Linked DNA regions of Homo sapiens: all the other regions are linked to region 4. The links are contacts of gene promoters, found by promoter capture Hi-C in human tissues and cell types (Jung and others, 2019). All regions are on one chromosome and are shown on one strand. Each heading gives the region's core, a stretch centred on a gene start or on the middle of the fragment in contact. The rest is flanking DNA. Distances are from core to core; before and after follow the strand shown.

The links. The method cuts DNA at HindIII sites, captures the fragments that hold promoters and counts their contacts. A contact is called where the count stands out against the background at its distance.
Region 1: a fragment that was not itself captured here is called in contact with the fragment with the promoter of CLN8 in region 4 in 1 of the 25 tissues and cell types used here (dorsolateral prefrontal cortex).
Region 2: a contact is called between a fragment that was not itself captured here and the fragment with the promoter of CLN8 in region 4, in 1 of the 25 tissues and cell types used here (lymphoblastoid cells).
Region 3: a fragment that was not itself captured here is called in contact with the fragment with the promoter of CLN8 in region 4 in 1 of the 25 tissues and cell types used here (dorsolateral prefrontal cortex).
Region 5: a contact is called between a fragment that was not itself captured here and the fragment with the promoter of CLN8 in region 4, in 1 of the 25 tissues and cell types used here (lymphoblastoid cells).
Region 6: a fragment that was not itself captured here is called in contact with the fragment with the promoter of CLN8 in region 4 in 1 of the 25 tissues and cell types used here (dorsolateral prefrontal cortex).
Region 7: a contact is called between a fragment that was not itself captured here and the fragment with the promoter of CLN8 in region 4, in 1 of the 25 tissues and cell types used here (lymphoblastoid cells).

The regions. Positions count from the first base shown.
Region 1 is chr8:555,726-558,425 of GRCh38, reverse strand. No RefSeq gene overlaps it. Among named protein-coding and RNA genes, the nearest start is that of TDRP, 12 kb to the right of the region's middle. The HindIII fragment of the contact is 3,417 bases long and covers 1-2,700 here.
Region 2 is chr8:219,321-222,020 of GRCh38, reverse strand. It overlaps the pseudogene RPL23AP53. Among named protein-coding and RNA genes, the nearest start is that of ZNF596, 12 kb to the left of the region's middle. The HindIII fragment of the contact is 5,624 bases long and covers 1-2,700 here.
Region 3 is chr8:536,513-539,212 of GRCh38, reverse strand. All of the region lies in intron 1 of TDRP (testis development related protein), which reads left to right. Among named protein-coding and RNA genes, the nearest start is that of TDRP, 7.0 kb to the left of the region's middle. RefSeq lists enhancers at 1,489-1,998, 1,999-2,509. The HindIII fragment of the contact is 5,767 bases long and covers 1-2,700 here.
Region 4 is chr8:1,762,389-1,765,088 of GRCh38, reverse strand. CLN8 (CLN8 transmembrane ER and ERGIC protein) reads right to left here and starts at 1,300. Exons shown (of 3, transcript NM_018941.4): 1 at 1,204-1,300. CLN8-AS1 (CLN8 antisense RNA 1) reads left to right here and starts at 505. Exons shown (of 2, transcript NR_134303.1): 1 at 505-655; 2 at 2,161-2,700. The HindIII fragment of the contact is 16,643 bases long and covers 1-2,700 here.
Region 5 is chr8:698,456-701,155 of GRCh38, reverse strand. The region is part of intron 2 of ERICH1 (glutamate rich 1); the gene reads left to right. Among named protein-coding and RNA genes, the nearest start is that of ERICH1, 31 kb to the left of the region's middle. RefSeq lists an enhancer at 2,658-2,700. The HindIII fragment of the contact is 7,633 bases long and covers 1-2,700 here.
Region 6 is chr8:410,532-413,231 of GRCh38, reverse strand. FBXO25 (F-box protein 25) reads right to left here. Exons shown (of 10, transcript NM_183420.2): 2 at 19-159. The coding sequence starts at 152. Among named protein-coding and RNA genes, the nearest start is that of FBXO25, 4.9 kb to the right of the region's middle. The HindIII fragment of the contact is 3,294 bases long and covers 1-2,700 here.
Region 7 is chr8:240,839-243,538 of GRCh38, reverse strand. It overlaps ZNF596 (zinc finger protein 596), which reads right to left. Exons shown (of 6, transcript NM_001042416.3): 2 at 2,632-2,700; 3 at 526-652. The coding sequence starts at 2,643. Among named protein-coding and RNA genes, the nearest start is that of ZNF596, 9.7 kb to the right of the region's middle. The HindIII fragment of the contact is 4,314 bases long and covers 1-2,700 here.

The DNA.
Region 1 (2,700 bases), core at 125-2,624, 1.2 Mb after region 4:
TGCATGAATGGGTTCGTTATTACAGGAGTGGACTCTTATAAAAGGATGAGTTCAACCCCTTTTCCTCCCCCCATATCCCCCCACCTTCCACCATGGGATGATGCAGCCAAGAGACCACTGCGAGATGCAGGCCCTCAACCTTGGACTTCCCACCCTCCAGAAGTGTAAGAACTAAACCTCCCAGGTACTCTGTTATAGCAGCACAGCACTGACTAAGACAACCTTGTAGGAGAATGTCAAAACCTAATTTGGTTTATTTGATATGTTGAATTGCATGAAGAGTCATTGTTAAATAAGAAGGGTGTGTAACCTTCTTTAGGTTGTATTTATATGGGTAAATCGTCTTAATGTAACTCTTTCAGAAGTTGTGCAGAGCTATGGACAACTGTCAGTGCCTGCACTGGCCATGCTTTATCCAGTTCCATATTATCGGTCACAATTTCAATTGTTTTTATTAAATGTTGTATGTTATAAAAAAAGTCTTTTGTCAAATGCATTCTCATCAGATATCTAAGCATACCCATTTAAAATATTTTGTTATTCACAGATGGTTTTGTGTTACTCTGATTCTTCCCTGAAAGCATTTGCAATCAGGTGTAGGCCAGAATGATTTGTGATGGCATCGTTTGAAAACTTTGAGACCTGTATTAGTCAGGATTCTCTAGAGAGACAGAACCAATAGGAGAGAGATGGATAAGAGGGGATTTTTTTAGGGAAATTGCTCGTATAATTATGGAAGCTGAGAAGTCCCACAACAGGCTGTCCGTAAGCTGGAGACTGAGGGAAGCCAGTGGTATGGCTCAGCTCAAGTCTGAAGGTTCCAGAACTGGAGAAGCTGGTGGTGTAACTCTCAGTCTGAGGCCAAAGGCCAGAGAACCTGAAGTTTTGATGTCTCAGGACAGGAGAAGAAAGATGTCCCAGTTCCAGAAAAGAGACAGGGAAAGAATTTGCCTTACCTTTGCCTTTTTGCTCTATCTGGATCCTCAATGGCTTGGGTGATGACATCCACATTGGTGAGAGGAGGTCTCCCTTACTCAGTCCACTGATTCAAATGCCAGTCCCTTCCAGAAAAACCTCACCGACATACCCAGAAATAACACTTTACCAGCTATCTGGATATCCCTTAATCCAGTCAAGTTGACACCTAAAATTGACCATTATAAGACCATGCTGGGCTGAGTCAGAATTTTCAGAGCTCTTGTGGAGAAGGTGATAGTTCATGAAACTGCTATCTCAAGGTCACACAGAACAAGATTTAATCACATGGGACCGAATGAATAGATAAAAGATGATTATAGTTATTGTCTGGAACACTGATGATCCTTTAATGTTCTCTTTTCTGGACATAAGAAACCCCTTTCTCTTTTCTCTTAAGTTATTGTACTTTTATAAACAGAAATGAAACATTTATTCTTTCTCCCCTCCTGATTGCTCCAGGATTGGAAAACTCTTATTGAGTATTTTTATTTTCATGGCAACACAGTTATTTGCATGCATTCAATAAGACTATGTTTTACTTGTAACAGGATACATTGGATAGATTACCAAGGCTTTTACTGGAATGTCACATGTGAGAATCTGCGGTGACCAGACAGCTTTAGGGAAGTAAGGTTAACTCCAAAGAGCCAATGCTTACAGAGTCCACTTGGAAAAACCATCTTGGTACCTCAATTACAGGACTCCCCGCCTTGCAGGTGACTAAGGAAAGTCACTTCCTGGCAGATCCAGGAAACTTAAGATATCTTAGGGATGTCTGGTAGAGAAGAATTCGCCCAAATCTATAGATATTGCAGGCAAAGTCTGGGTCAACTCCCGAATTGAAGAATCTTCCTTGAAGATGTTTCCTTGAAGAAGCTTCAAGGAATCCCCCACAACAGATCACATCTGAGTAACCCATGCGCCCACTGCTGAATAAGCCACTCAGAAAGTTCACTGGAACACCCACTGCAATCACCAAAAACATTAAACTGCACACCAGGAAACTGTCAGATCACCCCTGCGGTCCTCACACCTCCACTGAATGATGCTTTGAGCTTAATTCTAGAAATCTTGACTAGCTGCCGTGTGGATTCAGAAGCTGGGTTTCTAACCATTAGTTATGGCTTTTCTTTTCTTTTTTTTTTTTTTTTTGGAGTGGGGGACAGAGTCTCACGTTGTTGCCCAGGCTGGAGTGCAATGGTGCGGTCTCGGCTCACTGCAACCTCCACCTCCCAGGTTCAAGTGATTCTCCTGCCTCAGCCTCCCGAGTAGCTGGTATTACAGGTGCCCACTACCACGCCCAGCTAATTTTTGTATTTTTAGTAGAGACAGGGTTTCACTATTTTGGTCAGGTTGGTCTTGAACTCCTCACCTCAGGTGATCCACCTGCCTTGGCCTCCCAAAGTGCTGGGATTACAGGCATGAGCCACTGTGCCCTGCTGGCTTTTCTTTTATTTTCACAGAAACATCCTTCATTAAATGCCTGACTGCTCACACCATCCTGCAAATGCCCTCTACCACAAAGTCTCACCAGATGAATCAGCTGGTCCTTAATAAACAAGAGGGAACACAACAAGTAATAGATTTACATTGTTCATAGGAAAGAAGGACATTTGACTGATGGCAACTCTCTCCTGGACCAAACTTTAGTCAGCCTCCTGAGCCCTCCCCTCCACCAGGCCTGACCCGGGGCTTCTGTCTCCACCTGCAGGGCACATCTTT
Region 2 (2,700 bases), core at 175-2,674, 1.5 Mb after region 4:
TTTTTTTAAAGACATGGTCTTGTGCTGTTCCTCAGGCTGGAGTGCAGTGGTGCCATCTTGGCTTACTGCAACCTCGATATTCGGGGCTCAAGCGGTCCTCCCACCTCAGCCTCACTAGTAGCTGGGACTAGAGGTGTGTGGCAGCATGCCTGGCTGATTTTTGTATTTTTAGTAGAGACGGGGTTTTGCTATGTCTCTCTGGATGGTCTTGAACTCCTGCACTCAAGTGATCTGCCTGCTTCAGCCTTCCAAAGTGCTGGGATTATAGGCATGAGTCACCTTGCCTGTCGTGTTTTTAACTTTTTGTGGAAATACCAAACTATGTTACAAATAGGCTGTACCATTTTATATTCCACATACAGTATTTAATGGTTGTGATTTCTCTCTGACCTTGACAACACTTGTTACTTAATATTTGTGGATTATAGCCTTTCTAGTGTGTGTGAAGGAGTATGTGGTTGTGGTTTCAGTTTTGATGGCCATAATGATAATGATATTGATCGTCTTTTCATTTCCTCGTTTTCTATTTGCATGTCTTTTTGGCAAGGTGTGAGTTCAACTCTTCCGCCATTTGTAATTTGGTTGCTTTTGTTGTTGAGTTATACATATTCTGTATGTATTGTAGTTAATGGACAGTTGTTAGATATATAATGTGCTAGCAAATATTTTCTTCCTTTCTGTGGGTTGTCTTTTTGCTTTCTTTTTTTTTGAGACAGAGTCTTGCTGTGTTGCCCAAGCGGGAGTGCAGTGGCAGGATCTCAGCTCATTGTCACCTCCGCTTCCTGGGTTCAAGCGACTCTCCTGCCTCAGCCTCCTGAGTAGCTGGGATTACAGACGTGCACCATTACAGCAGGCTAATTTTGTATTTTTGTTTGAGATGGGGTTTGTTTATCTTGGTCAGGATGGTCTTGAACTCCCGTCCTCAGTTGATCCTCCTGCCTCGGCCTCCAGAAGAGCTGGGATTTCAGGCATGAGCCACCGTGCCTGGCCCTAATGTTTGTATTTTTAGTAGAGACAAGGTTTAGCCATGTTGGCCAGGCTGGTCTCCAACTCCTGACCTCAAGTGATCCATCTGCCTCAGCCTTCGAAATTGCTGGGATGATAGGCATGAGCCATCATACCATGTCTTTTTTTTTTTTTTTTTTTGAGACAGGGTCTTGCACTGTTGCCCAGGTTGGAGTGTAGTGGCACGATCTCAGCTTAATGTAACCTGCACGTTCTGGGCTCAAGCAGTCCTCCTGCTTCAGTCTCCCTAGTAGCTGCTACTTCAGCTGTGTGTCACCATTCACAGCTGGTTTTTGTATTATTAGTAGAGATGGTGTTTTGCTATGTCATCCTGGCTGGTCTTGAACTCCTGGACTCAGGTGATCCACCTGCCTTAGCCTCCCAAAGGGCTGGGATTGCTGGCGTGAACCACAGTGCGCAGGGTTTAGGGTTTACAGTTTAGGGTTTAGGGTTTAGGGTTAGGGTTAGGGGTTAGGGGTTAGGGGTTAGGGGTTAGGGTTAGGGGTTAGGGTTAGGGGTTAGGGTTAAGGGTTAGGGGTTAGGGGTAGGGGTAGGGGTAGGGTTAGGGGTTAGGGTAGTGTAAATAATTTCACATTATTACTAATAACAAATTATTACTTATATTACACTATTACTTAATGTAAAGGCTATTAAGACATGTTTGTCTTCAAAGAATGGCGTTGGTTTCTGTGGGCAGTTTCTCCTCATGGAAAGGTAGTGCGTTCCTGCTAAATCATGGACAAAATGGGCCTCCAGGAGCTACAGGCTGCAGAAGCAGCTTCTCGTCTATGTCCTTCACTGCCTGATACTGTTGTTGACCTTGAAACCTTGTTTTGGGCTAGTTTTATTAACAGAGCTAGTATTTCCATGAGGTTCTACTACATACCAGGTTCCAGAAAGCTAAATGCCTTTTGTTTGTTATTATTCACTAAATACAAATCACAACTCTCTTCTCATTACACACACAACAAAATTTAGCTGAGGGAGATTGAGTGACTTTCCCAGGGTCGCACAGCTACTAAGAGCAGAGTCATGTTTAGATTCATGTGGGAATACTGAACACAGAAATGAACCAACGGAAACATCCTACATTCCAAAAGCCTACTCAAGCCATTTGTTCTTATTTTAAGGAAAATCTATCATGAATGCCAACATACATCCCTAACAACCCAGTGCTGTTACCCTCCAAACATTTTATGTCTTGCAAAGTATTAGAACTTCATATGTGAAGCCATACCACTCAGAGGGAATGCAAAATACATAATGACATCTCCTTTAGGATGTCCTTAGAGAATTCAAGGAAAAGAAGTTAAATAATTTAAAAGTGCTTTCGGGTACAGCTATTTAGCACTAGACAGTAAGATTAGACATAGATTGTAAAGATAATAATAGGGTTAGGGATAGGATTAGGATCTGGGTCAGAGTCAGGGCCAGAAGTATGCTTAGAGGTGGGGTCATGGTCAGGGTCAAGATCAAAGTCAGGGTCAAAGTTAGGGTCAGAATTAGGGACCAGGGTAGGGATCAGGATTTAGATTCAGGGTCAAAGTCTTGGGACAGGGTTAGGGTTAGGATTAGAACCAGAGCTTTTTTCTCCTCAGGACCCACCCGAGGACGGGTCACCATGGCTTTGGAGCACCTGGTAGTGTGGCATGTCCACAGTGAAGACCAGAGTTTCGTTGTCCTTAAGACTGACCT
Region 3 (2,700 bases), core at 163-2,662, 1.2 Mb after region 4:
ACCCTGATCACCTCTTACATACCCACCTGCACATGCCATCACATGAGGGGATGTGAGTTCTGGGGACACAAACATTCAGTCCACAGCAATTGCATTTCCTTACGTGGATATACAGGATTTTAAATACAAATTGAAAAAACGAGTCCCCTATTGATGCCTTCAGGGGGATATTTCTAGTCTCTTTCTATTATAGGCCTGCAGGATAGTTATTTCACAAGTCTAGAAGTGGAGCTGTCCGAGGATGCGTGCATTTGTGGTTTTGATGGATGTCTCCAAATTGCCCTCTGAAAGAGGCGGTCCTGGTTTACGTTCCAACCAGCAGCATATGCGAATGTTTCTCACCAGTGTGGTGAGATGCGCATGTCTTCAAGATTTTAGATCTGATGGGGGGAAAAGTTGCATCTTAATGTGATTTTAATTTGCCTTTCTCTTATTTATATTCAATAGCTTCTTAGATGTTCACAAGCCTAATGAAGACTTCTAAAGACTTCTCCCCCAGTCCCACTACCATGTCATTGAATGTATGGAACTGTAGTCAAGATAACTGTATTTGCATGAAAATACAGTTGGGTAGTTTAGATTTGGACTTGGTTTCTGGTGAGCCTTGATTGAATCTACACCCTATCTCTGCCTTTTGTTGAGCCACTTGACCTAGCCAAGTATCAGTTTTGTTTTTTAGCTGTAAAATTGGGATAAATAGAGCTATCACTAGTGTTTATTGAGGCGGTGCTTAGCCCCTGTTCATAAATTCTTGATATGGGTTGGTGCCACCATCTGACACATGGGCACAAAGGAGGAGGGACCGGGAAGGCTACACAGCTGCCAACAGACTCTATCTGACCCAGCTTTAGTCAGGACCTCGCTTTTGTCCTTCCCAGCCTCAGTAGAAGTCCCTGCAGTGCGAACCTCCTCACCCTTGATGTCTGATTGAGTTCCTCATCCCCTGGCCTTGATGTCTGAGTTCTTGGCCCACCTGTAGCAAGAATCTCCCACCCTTGATGAAGTCTTCTCTTGGTCACTTCCCATCCCGAGACTCCTTTGCGGTTGGCTGCAAATCACAGCTGTCTTTGCCTGTTGGGAGCTGAACCAAACCTCTCCTCTATTGAGATAGCCTTGATTGGAGTCTCCCTGTTTTAACAATGCCGCAGAAGCTTTTTCTTTATCAGTGGTGAAAGGTTGCAGACATTTTGTTTTAAAAACAAAACCTCTTCCCAACCAAGAAAACTTAACAATATAGGAAGAGAAATAAAATAATTTTATTATGAAGGAGCACTTAGCTAGGATGGGACACATCATAGGCACAGATTGTGAAGATGAAAGAAGTCTTACTCTTTTATATAACCAAGTAGGTAAAACCCATTGTATTCATGTTTTCAAGATAAAATTGCTAAATTTATCCTATCTTTACAGGGAGGCAGGATTTGCAACTTGGAGTCAGGTGACAGCTGAAGTTAGGCTCGTCTCCTCTGGGAAATGTCCTCTTTTGTTTCAGGTAGTTGTGAGACTGATAGGAGGCTAATTTAGCATTCGACTTTAAAGGAGTCATAATTCTCAAACCCCGGTGAATTCTTACTTGTTTACAAGACCAATGAAGACTTCTAAAAACCTCGTAGTCCCCATGGCCAGTGTGTGCAAACCAGGCTGTCCTGCCCCTGGGATGAAATGAAAAAGTGAAAAGTAAATGAAGTCATCCATATCCAGCCCTTAATATTTTTCTCTGGCAAACAGACACACTAAAAGAAGAAAAAGGAGGTCTTGTTATTAAATAATAGAAATAGTTAATGCTTTTTACTGACTTAGGATTTGGTTTTCTGGTATCCCTTGCTCTGGAATGTGCTCATTGCCCGAGTTGATGTGGACAGTGGGGTGTGGTGCAGGCAGGAGGGTCCTGGGACAGCTGCATTCAGGCACTTCTCACTTGTGCGACAGGCATTCGGACATCACAAGCCTCTCTGGAGGACCATTTCATCCTAGGCTGAATGCTCAGTGCTGTATCCCCAAGACCAGGCAGGGAGCCAGCCCAGGAAGGGAGCCAGGCCCACGTGGGGCTCAGCAGTGCCCCTGAGAGGAGTGTACCTGGTGTGGGGTTTCCACATTACGGCACCTGATGGGAGCTGCAGAATTGAGTCAGGGTGGGAACTCTGGAGTCTGGAGCGGGGAGCAGGAGTTCTCCAGCCTTAGGGGAGCTGATCTTGATGCAGATTCTTTCTTGGGTAAACAGATATTTGTAGGGTTAGTCTCATTGGACTCTCATATGAGCTGAGTCAGATACTCAGTCAGCAGAAGCACTTGAGTCAAGTCTCTGTGGGTGATTACTTGAGAGGAAGCAGGAAGGGTCAGTTACGATATTATAGAAGGGAAGGAGGATCCTGGGCGCTGCTTATTCGCTCCGGATTCAGCTGGCTCCTCTTAACTGATGCTTGGGGAGCTCCTGCCTGTGGAACAGAGTGGTGCTTTCCTCCACTGAAACATAGCAAAACATTTTCTGGTGGCCACATTAAAAAGTTTTAATTCAATATTTAAAATTTGATATATTCAGCATATTACATCAATAGGTAATCAATATAAAATTTGTTAGAGATCCTTTACATTTTTTTCATACTCTCATATCTATGTGTATTTTACATTTACCAGCACAAGATATTAATATGTATCAATTTGTATGCCAAGTTTTCTTCAGAAATACTTGATCAGTATTTA
Region 4 (2,700 bases), core at 51-2,550:
ACAGCCTCCATGACGGCCAATCTGAAAGTGAGGCACAGAAGTGTTCAAGCTCAGTGGGGAGCTGTGGCCATCTCATATTCCCTCAATCACTCACACTTCCTGCACCATTGCTCTTTCCTCTCACAACCTTCCTGAAAAGTTGTATGTAAATAAAAATCAAAATACGGGAGTGAGGTAAGCAGAAGCTGGATAGTTACAGATTTCACACAGAGGGTAAACTGAAACAGGAGTCAGAAGCAGCCGCCTCGCGCCAGTCTTTCAGAGAAGAGTCACTTACAGCAGAATCTACACAGGCTGGGGAGCCCCTGGCTCCCCTCCCTACTGTCCACACCCAACCCCAACCTAGAGCAGCTGGCTATAGGGCCCAGAGCCCAGGCGGGTCCCACCTCCTGCTGACCTGACCCAGCGCCCGCTCTCTCCCCCGCACACTTTGGTGACCTTACCCAGCGTCCCTCCCCGCTCCTACAGGTTCTGACTGACCCAGCGTCCCTCCGCCTCCCACACCATGTTGAGCTGCACCTTGTCCCCTTCCGCCCCAGCTAACTCGGTGACCAGTGGAGGCCACACCCACGTGACACCTGCTGTCCTTGACAGCAGCTCCGACGGCACCTCTGTGGCTCTGCAGGAGCCGCCTCCCCGCCTCGTGGGCACACAGGTGAGCTGACCGTACTTGCCCAGCCGGTCTGAGGGAAGCGAGGTCAGGGGCGACGGCGCCGCCTCCGCCTCCGCCTGTCCCCTCCCTCCGTCCGGCATCCGCGCCGCTCAAGGACTCCAAAGTCAGCGTCGCGGTGAGGAGCCCCCCACGCCCAACCCGCGCAGGCAGGACCCCGGGCTGCGGGGCTCGAAAGTCCCCCACAAGCTGCTGTCCGGGAACCGCACGGCCCGGGGTGCCGCACGCCCACCGGAAGGCAGGGCTGGGACCGCGGACGCCAGGAGCCACCCCGGCCCCTCACCCGGGCTCCCCCTCACGTGGGCTCCCGCGCGCCCATCTGGGTTCCCCCTCAGCTGAGTTCCCGGCCCCTCACCTGGGATCCCCGGTCCCCTCACCCGGGCTTCCCAGCCCCCTCGCCTGGGCTCCACGCGCGCTCACCTGGGCTGCCCCTCACCTGGGTTCCCGGCCCCTAACCCGGGCACCCCGCGCGCTCACCTGGGCTGCCCCTCACCTGGGTTCCCGGCCCTCACCCGGGCTCCCTGAGCGCTCACCTGGGCTGCCACTCAGCCGGGCTCCCTGCGCTTGGCGCCGCCCCGCCCCTGCAGGACTCCCGGCAGTCACTGACCTCATTGCCGCCCAGTCACGACTGGCCGGCCTCAAACACCGCCCGCGCACGCGCGTTCGCACGCGCGTGCGCACGCGTTCTGCCCCCCTGGGGGCGTCGCTACGAGAGGCCCCGCCTAGGCGCTACGACGGCGGCGGGCGCGGGAGGGGCGGGGCGGCGGGCGCGGGAGGGGCGCGGCGGGGGGCGGGGCGCGGCGCGGGGGGCGGGGCGCGGCGGGGGGCGGGGCGCGGCGGGGGGCGGGGCGCGGCGGGGGGCGGGGCGCGGCGGGGGGCGGGGCGCGGCGGGGGGCGGGGCGCGGCGGGGGGCGGGGCGCGGCGGGGGGCGGGGCGCGGCGGGGGGCGGGGCGCGGCGGGGGGCGGGGCGCGGCGGGGGGCGGGGCGCGGCGGGGGGCGGGGCGCGGCGGGGGGCGGGGCGCGGCGCGGCGGGCGCTGTGGGGCGGCGGGGTGGACGCGCTGAACCACGGCCGGCGGGAGGGGCGGGGCCGGGCTGAACCATGGCGGGCGGCGGCATGGGGGCGGTGGGGCTCCGCGGGCAGCCTGGTTGCGCTGCACCCGGACGGGGCCGAGGGGACCTGAAAGCTGCGGCAGAGCCTGACCGCGCCGTTCTCCAGAAGAGCCCCGGCCGCGGCTGAGTCGCGCTCCGGGTGTGGACGGAGCCGGAGCCTCCCCGGGGCTCGGTGAGGACACAGGGCCCAAGCCCCGGACCTTCAAGTCTTGACCGAGCGCATCCCCGGCCCTTCTGCGCCCACACCTGAGTTTTTGTCTGTAGGAGTTTCCGCAGTTTGCTAAGGTTGTTATTCGAGTTACTTATGTTTCTTCTCTCTAAGGTTGTTATTCGAGTTACTTATGTTTCTTCTGTCTAATGTGTTTTGTTCCCTCTTTAGAATCGACATCTAGAGGAGTACTCACCACTTAATTGATGATCAATACACGTTCCTTGAAAGAACCGATAGCATGCGATCGATACAGAGCATCTGCACTGGGATTGTCCGCCCCGCCTGTCAGGGAGGCCTCGGGGGCTAATGGAGCTGAGGGTATAGTCGGCCTTGGACCCTCGCTTTTTTCCTTTCCTGTACTATGAAGATAACTGCCTTATCTCCCCCTCAGGACTGTTTTGGGGATTAAATAGGACGTTTAAATTACCAACGCTCTTTGAAATAAACATTTCAAAATTATTATAACCCTTTAGTACATGTGGGAAAACGTTGACATTCATGTTCAAGTTTATTTTTCTGCTGGCTCATTTAGGTTTGTTGAAGCCTTGAGTCCCTAGGATTGTCTAAGAACATGGGTAAATGTGTGTGGAGGCCTCCCTGGAGGCCAGAGAACTGCCAGCAGCCTTCATGATGTTAGGGGAACAGGAACCTAGGAGAGCCAGGGTGACATCGTTTTAAAATCAACAACCCATCTTGGCGGGCGCGGTG
Region 5 (2,700 bases), core at 163-2,662, 1.1 Mb after region 4:
GTTCTTCTCCAGCCCTTGCTCTGTTCTTCTTGGCCCTTGGCCATGTGTGTTTAAAATCAGGTCAAGTTGCAGCAAAAAAAATCTTGAAAATGTGTTTGCATTTGTGTCACTGGTGGATGATTTGGGGACAATTCACATTGTCCGTGATGCTGCACGCAGCGTGGTTGGCACCTGCACTTCCTCTCGGCTGCTTTTCCTCTGTCATTTTTGGGCCAGATTGCCCTTGTCTTGAGAGCTGGGCTGTGCATTGAAGGTAGGTTTGCTGTGTTTTATCTGGCATTGTTAAGTATTTTTCAGGAGAGTTTTTCCTCTTATCTGCCATCTGGAAGCCTCTGATAAAGGAATATTTTCCCAAGACTCTGAATAGCTGATTAAGAGTCTGTGAAAGACAGCAAACCACATTTGCATGGAGGAGGCCATCCGATGGGGCAGGACCTCCCACCGCTGAGCACCTTTTCCGAGCAGCCACAAGGCAGTGGGACATTTTACTGCACATAAAACAGCTGTGATAAGTTGTAGCTTGGAAGCTGGATAGTGAGGACTGACTGGAGCTGTCAGGCGTGTGCATGTGTGCGGGTCTGTGCGCCTGTGCGGGCCTGTGCGCGTGTGCGGGCCTGTGCGCCTGTGCGGGCCTGTGCGCCTGTGCGGGCCTGTGCGCGTGTGCGGGCCTGTGCGCCTGTGCGGGTCTGTGCGCCTGTGCGGGTCTGTGGCCTGTGAGGGCCTGTGCGCGTCTGCGGGCCTGTGCGCCTGTGCGGGCCTGTGCGCGTGTGCGGGCCTGTGCGCCTGTGCGGGCCTGTGCGCGTGTGCGGATCTGTGCGCGTGTGCGGGCCTGTGCGCGTGTGCGGGTCTGTGCGCGTGTCCGGGCCTGTGCGGGTCTGTGCGCCTGTGCGGGCCTGTGCGCGTGTGCGGGCCTGTGCGGGCCTGTGCGCGTGTGCGGGTGTGTGCGCCTGTGCCGGCCTGTGCGCGTGTGCGGGCCTGTGCGGGCCTGTGCGCGTGTGCGGGTCTGTGCGCCTGTGCGGGTCTGTGCGCCTGTGAGGGTGTGTGCGCGTGTGCGGGTCTGTGCGCGTGTGCGGGTCTGTGCGCCTGTGAGGGCCTGTGCGCGTGTGCGGGCCTGTGCGCCTGTGAGGGTCTGTGCGCGTGTGCGGGTCTGTGCGCCTGTGAGGGTCTGTGCGCGTGTGCGGGTCTGTGCGCGTGTGCGGGCCTGTGCGCGTGTGCGGGTCTGTGCGCCTGTGCGGGCCTGTGCGCCTGTGCGGGTCTGTGCGCGTGTGCGGATCTGTGCGCCTGTGAGGGTCTGTGCGCGTGTGCGGGTCTGTGCGCCTGTGCGGGTCTGTGCGCTTGTGCGGATCTGTGCGCGTGTGCGGGTCTGTGCGCGTGTGCGGGTCTGTGCGGCTGTGTGAGTGTGCACGTGTGCGTGTCTGTGCGCCTGTGAGTCTGTGCACGTGTGCGGGTCTGTGCGCCTGTGTGAGTCTGTGCACGTGTGCGGGTCTGTACGTGCTCCTGTGTGTGCTTTCACGCGCGTGTTGAGATCTTGGATGCTGGAGCTTGTTTAAATATGATGAAAATAGGAGGGAAATGAAGCCGTCCTCCTTCTCTGGAACGCCTGCTTTTGTGAGTCGCCGTCACCCTGAGGGGTGGGGAGGGTCTGGGTGCGGCGCCCAGCGGAGATACCAGGCAGCATTGTTGTGCTCGTGCTTGTCCTTGGATTTTACACTGATTTCACTTGAAGTTGCTGTGATTGTGGCCTCGCATTGATACAGATCTAATTACTTGAAATGTCGTGGTACCAGGAGAGAAGAAGGCCGCTGGGACAGCAATCGGGGGTGGCGTCCACTCTTCTGTCCAGCCCTCTGGTGGGGCTGGCGCTCCCCCCGGTAGCATTTTGCCAGTTATCCATGCAGGTGGGAAATACCTTTTTCTTTCGTTCCTGATGATAACCAGCCTTACACATCTCGTATCAGGGTAACTGTGACCATATTGTAGAATGGAGCCAAATGCACGGGGAGTTTCTGAGCTGATATTTAGTGGGTTTGGGGGGTTTTTTGAGACAGGGTTTCCCTGTGTTGCGCAGGCCGTAGTGCGGTGCTCTTTTCAGGCATGGTCCTGGCACCCACGGCCCTGAGCTCCTGGGCTCCACTGAGCCTCCCGCCACAGCTGAGCCGAGACTTTGGAGCACGCACAGCAGTTGTGCTTGGCACTTGCAGTTCCCCTGCAGGATGATCCTGGAGAGCCTCCCTGGTTAAAAAAAAAAAAAAAAAACTCACAGAGACAACCATAGGATGCTACTTCGTGGCATCCTACCTGAGGAGGACGGAGGTGCACCGTGAGCCCTGGTTTTGCCTCCAGCACTTTTTCCAGCAAAATGGACAAAAGACTTTTCAGGCCAAACACAGTGACTCACGCCTGTAATCCTAGCACTTTAGGAGGCCAAGGAGGGAGGATTGCTTGAGCCCAGGAGCTCTAGACAGTGAGCCATGATCGCATCATTGCATTCTAACCTGTGCAACAGAGTGAGACCCTGTCTCTAAAAGAATTTTTTAAAAATGTTTTTCAGAAGTGTGTAATTTTTCAATGACCACCTTGTCATTGAGAATTGAGGAAAATGAATACTCATAAATTGCTGGCAGGAATGTAATTCAGGGCCGGGCACGGTGGCTCTCACCTGTAATCCCAGCACTTTAGGAGGCCGAGGCAGGAGGATCA
Region 6 (2,700 bases), core at 168-2,667, 1.4 Mb after region 4:
TGCTCAGCTGTAACTTACATGCTGTGACTGATGTTACAACGGTTATTCTCTCTTTCAAGTTTCTGACTACAAGATTCACATCTCTTCCAGCCATCTTCTGTCTTAATCCAACTCCATCCAGGAGATCTCCAGTCCTGACCCAAAAATGGCATAGTTCTCCTATGAAAAAGTTAAATTATGTTAAAAAGTATATATAATTCATAAAAGTTTCTTTTCACTTAGAACATTTATTAATTTTAAAGATTAAAGTTCTTAACATTTAAATGTCTGCTCATTAATTAAACGTTGGCTCGACATTGGTGACAGTGACAATAACACAGTACTGTGTACTAAAGTGATCAAATGGGGTAAGTAAACGTGGTTTTACTGGCCTAATACTGCGTATCCCATGAAAGGTTTACCAGAGGTGACATTCTAGCTCATACCTGAAAAACAAGCAGGGGTCAGGGAGTGTGGAATAGGGAATATTATTCCAAACAAGTATTCTCTCTTTGCCAGAAGTTAGAAGCAACCGAAAATGAAATGTATTCATGTTCAGCAACTCTAAGTAGTTCAGTTTGGTTGAAGCTTAGAATAGATGAGAGAGAGTGGGCCAGAATTAAGGATGGAGAAGTCATTTAAGGCTGGATCAAGTTAGAGGAGTTGGATGCTATTCTGAGGGCAATGAGGGGCCAAAAAAGGGAAGTAAGCAGGTAAGTGATTCAATCAGATTTGTGGTTTACAAAGAACTCAGTATCACAGTGGGAGAAGGTATGGGGTGAGGGTCACCTGGAGGAAAGTAGTTGGGACTGGAGGCTTCTGAATGTTGACCTTTAAAAGGTGAGAGTATACAGTGGCAAAATAAACAGAAGAGCAGAGACTGCAGAAATATTTAGGAAACAGAGTCAAACAGTACTTGAAGACTGTCTGGAAACGTGAGGAGGAAATCAAGGAAGTTATCTAGATTTTGTTTTGTAGCCCCTGGATCTGGGATAAGACATACAGAAGGAACAGCAGGGTTTTATTAGGAAAGGAGAGATAAGGGATATTAATTTCAGCTTAGGACATGCCTGTTCAGTTTGAAATACCAGACTCCAGGTATAAAAATTATGACTTAAAAAATGATGCAACTTCGTGATTAACTTCATGACGCTCACAATTTGATAAGAGTGAGACTTCAAATGCTAGTTCTTCCCACTGACTTGATTTCTGCTCCTCTTGATCAGTGGTTTTCAACTACTGCTGTGCATTAACATCACAGGAAGCTTTTTAAACATTCAAGTGCTTAGTCCCATCTTAGTTCAGTTAAATATGAATATTTGGGGGTGAAGGCTAAGTTTAAGTAGTTTTTAAAGGTCCACAGGTGATTCTCATACACAGTGAGACTGTGCATGAGGCTAAAAACCACCTCAGATGCTCACACTGCTGATTCAAAATGTCACATCCCAGAAAGGCTCCCTGACTCCCCGTCCAAACAGCGCCCTTCTGCTGCCTCAACCCCCTCCCTACCAGTCTAAGCCATTATCTAGTGCCTTCATAGTTGTAAGGGCTGTCTGAAATGATTAGCGTGTTTATCATCTGTTTTCCTCCAAGAAAATGCAATGTCTTGTTCAGGTCCGTATTCCATTACCTTGAACAATGCCAGGAAAACAACAGGAGCTCTATAAGTATTTATTTACTGAATGAATAAATATATACATCCATGGTTCAGAAGAGAGTTAGACTAGAGAGAAAGAGGAAAATCATGAGCATTCAGACACTAATCAAAACCACACAAATAATATCACAGAATATGTCGAGAGGGAAATCAAGAGAGCCAAGAAAAAAACCCTAAGAAACATCACCATTTAAGGGATCGGCAGATATAAGCCAAGAAGAAAAACTGAAAAGGAAGAGCCAAAAAGGTAGAGGGAGAAGTAGGAAGTCAGGAGAAAAATGTATTTCAGGAAAGAAATGGTCGACAGAGACGAAAATGTTATAAAAATGCCAAGCATGGCAAGAGTTGAAAATATACGTTGAATTTAGCTACAGAAAGGTAGCTGAATTACTCAAGCAAAAGTGGTTTCTGTAATGTATTACTTTAATTTCACGTCCCGAACAGACTTGAGTATTTTATAATATAGAATATTTATATCGTAGAGAAAAATGTAGAATATTTACATCATGGAGAATAAATGAGAGATGAACATCTCCAAACACCACCTCCCAACTATATTTAGTATAATTAACAAAAAACAAGCTATTAAATGGGCACTTATACAATCCTAGAAGATACAGAAAAAAAAGGAAGGAAATTACATAGACTTCAACAATATTCCTGGATCAACCACAAATGCTTAATTCTTGACTGGTGTAGGAAATGATGAAGTAATTATTCTTTACACGAAGAAAATCTCAAACCTTGCTAAACTGACTTATAGTCAGAACATGTCTTTTTCAGTCACATAATGATTAATTTAAATTCTTGCTTTAGAAAATACTTTATTCCTTAAATTTCAGCACAATTTTGATAAACTTTGTCTCACAGAACTGCTTCACAACTACTGAACATCCTAAAATGCAAAACTCAATGCCCATGTTCAGTCGACCTAAAGTTATCTAAAACTGTCTCTAATAGCATACAGCTGATTTTATGATTTTCAAGAACATTCCCACCAAAGGCAGCAAAGACCATGAAGTAGCAGATGACTGAAGTGGCACCTTGAGTCTCATAAAACACAT
Region 7 (2,700 bases), core at 196-2,695, 1.5 Mb after region 4:
CAGACATAAAAGACCTATAATTGCTGATGGCCATGCCTCACTTCAAATACTGATTTCAGAATCCTCAGTGTTTTCACTTAGTGAGAAATTACAAATTGTCATAGTATTTGACATTATATTAAAAAACTATGCAATAAATATTAGCTCCACCAGAACAATCTAGGTTCTGTGCAGAACAGTCCCTATGATAGAATAATTACTTTAAAGAAATCAATACATTTATTTATGCATACCAAAGCAGTGAATTACCATAACTTTTCTGAGTTTGGGAGATTAAAGAGCAAGAAGGATGTGAAACTGTGGTCAGAAAGATGACTTTCTAGAGAGAGGACAAATCAATATAAGTGAAAAGGAAAGAAATGGCTGTCAGGTAATTGTGAGAGTTATGAAAGGATCAAAGCAGAAGTTGAAGTGATAGATGAGAAAGCTGTTCTAAGCACGTGTAGAATGAAAGAATGAATCAGTGAAAAATGAGTGAGTGAATGAATCCGTATATACATACATAATAAATATAAAGAGACTCACCAATAGAGACCAGATGACTGATGTTCTCCAACATCACATCTTGAAACAGCTTTCTCTGGGATGTGTCCAGCAGGGCCCACTCTTCTTGAGTGAAGTCTACAATGATATCCTCGAAGGTCATGGAATCCTAAAACATTATGGACATTCTACTGCAAACAGGGCTATCTCTGCCAATGTTCAGTGGAGCAAGATCAAAGTGACTGTACTAAGGAAGTGTGGGTGGTATGAACAGAAAACTCAAAACAGTGTTTGGGGTTCCTGTCACATTGCTTTAAATCTGAACTGGGAATCTGGCTTTCAGATTTACTCATACATAAAACTTCACATAGAGAAATATCACATGTGGTGTGGCATAATATAACCTGAAGATTTCCCAATAGACTTCTAAAGTATAACTTACAGATACTAATTATGAAATCTGTACTTGGAAATTTAGAACTAAAATTCTCCTCTCCACCACCTTCAAGAAAATCTATAGACTCACTACAAGGGAGGCAGCATCCATAATTTGTCACGTTTTAATCAAGACTATAGTTAGATATTCCACTATAGGACCTCAGTGTCCTCAGAATAAAATAAAGACCTGTTATGAGTTCAAAAAGGTCCAATGAGATAGTATGTAAAGTGGTTCCTATCTATCACTTTTTAGATACAAGCCACAAATACATTATTCATGAAATGACTGAGAACACTCAGTTGTGTGAACAACTTTCATATAGAACTTGGTATCAGCAGATGCAGCCTCTTATGTCTACACAACTCAGGTGTTCACTGTTAATGGATAAGGATGAATGGCTCAGCAGCACAAGCCAGGGACTCTAAGACTTCAGTACTGAAAGATGGTCTCATCCTGCCACTTTCCATGGTCTGAGGATTTCCTTTCTCAATTTTATGTGGGATCTTCAAACACCAGGTGATATAGTTTGGCTCTGTGTCCCCACCCAAATCTCATCTTGAATTGTAATCCCCACATGTTGGGGGAGGGGTCCGGTGGGAGGTGATTGAATCATGGGGGTGAACTTCCCCCTTGCTGTTCTCATGCTAGTAATATCTCAGAAGATCTGATGATTTAACAGTGTGTGGCATTTCCTGATTTGGTCTCTCTCCTGCTGCCTTATGAAGAAGGTGCTTGCTTCCCCTTCCACCATGATTGTAAGTTTCTGGAGGCCTCCCAGTCATGCTTCCTGTTAAGCCTGCAGAACTGTCAGTCAGTTAAACTTCTTTTCTTCATAAATTACCCACTATCAGGTAGTTTTTTATAGCGGTGTGAAAATGGACTAATGCACTAGGTACTATTCTATTTTGTTTCTTCATGTTGTCTCTAGATTTAGGGGAAAAAAAATCCTTTGATTGTCCTGGTCTCTCCACTTCAAAAATTTCCTCAGAGTTTTAAATTTACTCTGTTTCCTATACTCCATCACTTAATGCACAACCAAAATTAAAGAAACAACACTCCAGTTGCTTCCAGTTATCAAATTTGATCAGAGGTTAATTTGGGGACAAGGGTAATAAGAATTTTAATTTTGCTTTTTAAGTTTTTCAAAAGTTCACATTTATTCTCTCAAGACATTAAGATTTTGAGATAGGAAAAATAAATGAATAATTCCTCATTGTCTCCTCTGTCCTAACCCTATCTGCTTTCCCTTCAAGTTAAACAGCCCTCCCCTAACACCTGAAACACTAGACTAACTGAGCTTGCCTTTGTATGGGCTATAACCTGCTCTCACTTATTTTCACCACCTACCCACATATACTCTCAAGCCCACTCCTGCCAATAACATAGGTAATGAGTGAATTTATTTCCCCAACAAGGCCATGAGAGGCTCGTAATGAATGATTTCCCTGAGACTGGATGAGAGAAACAAAAACCTCTCACATCTTAATACACAGCCTTAGTAGAGGCTGGAATGCCTTAGTGTACTGTTGAAAGGACATTACTTCTTGATGACTCTTTGAGCCAATGTAAACATTCCGAAGCCCTGGGGAATCTTAATTGGAGCTTGGATCCTTGAGTGCACTTAGAACATCCATGTTAATAGGATGAATCTGCCCTTAGGCTGGTAACAGGGGTACAAATTTCAGTAGAAAGAAGAATTTCCCACTCACCGGTGATGGCATTGTACTAGCTCAGCCACCAAATGTATTCCTCTGGGTTTTCACTCACACCATCCAAGC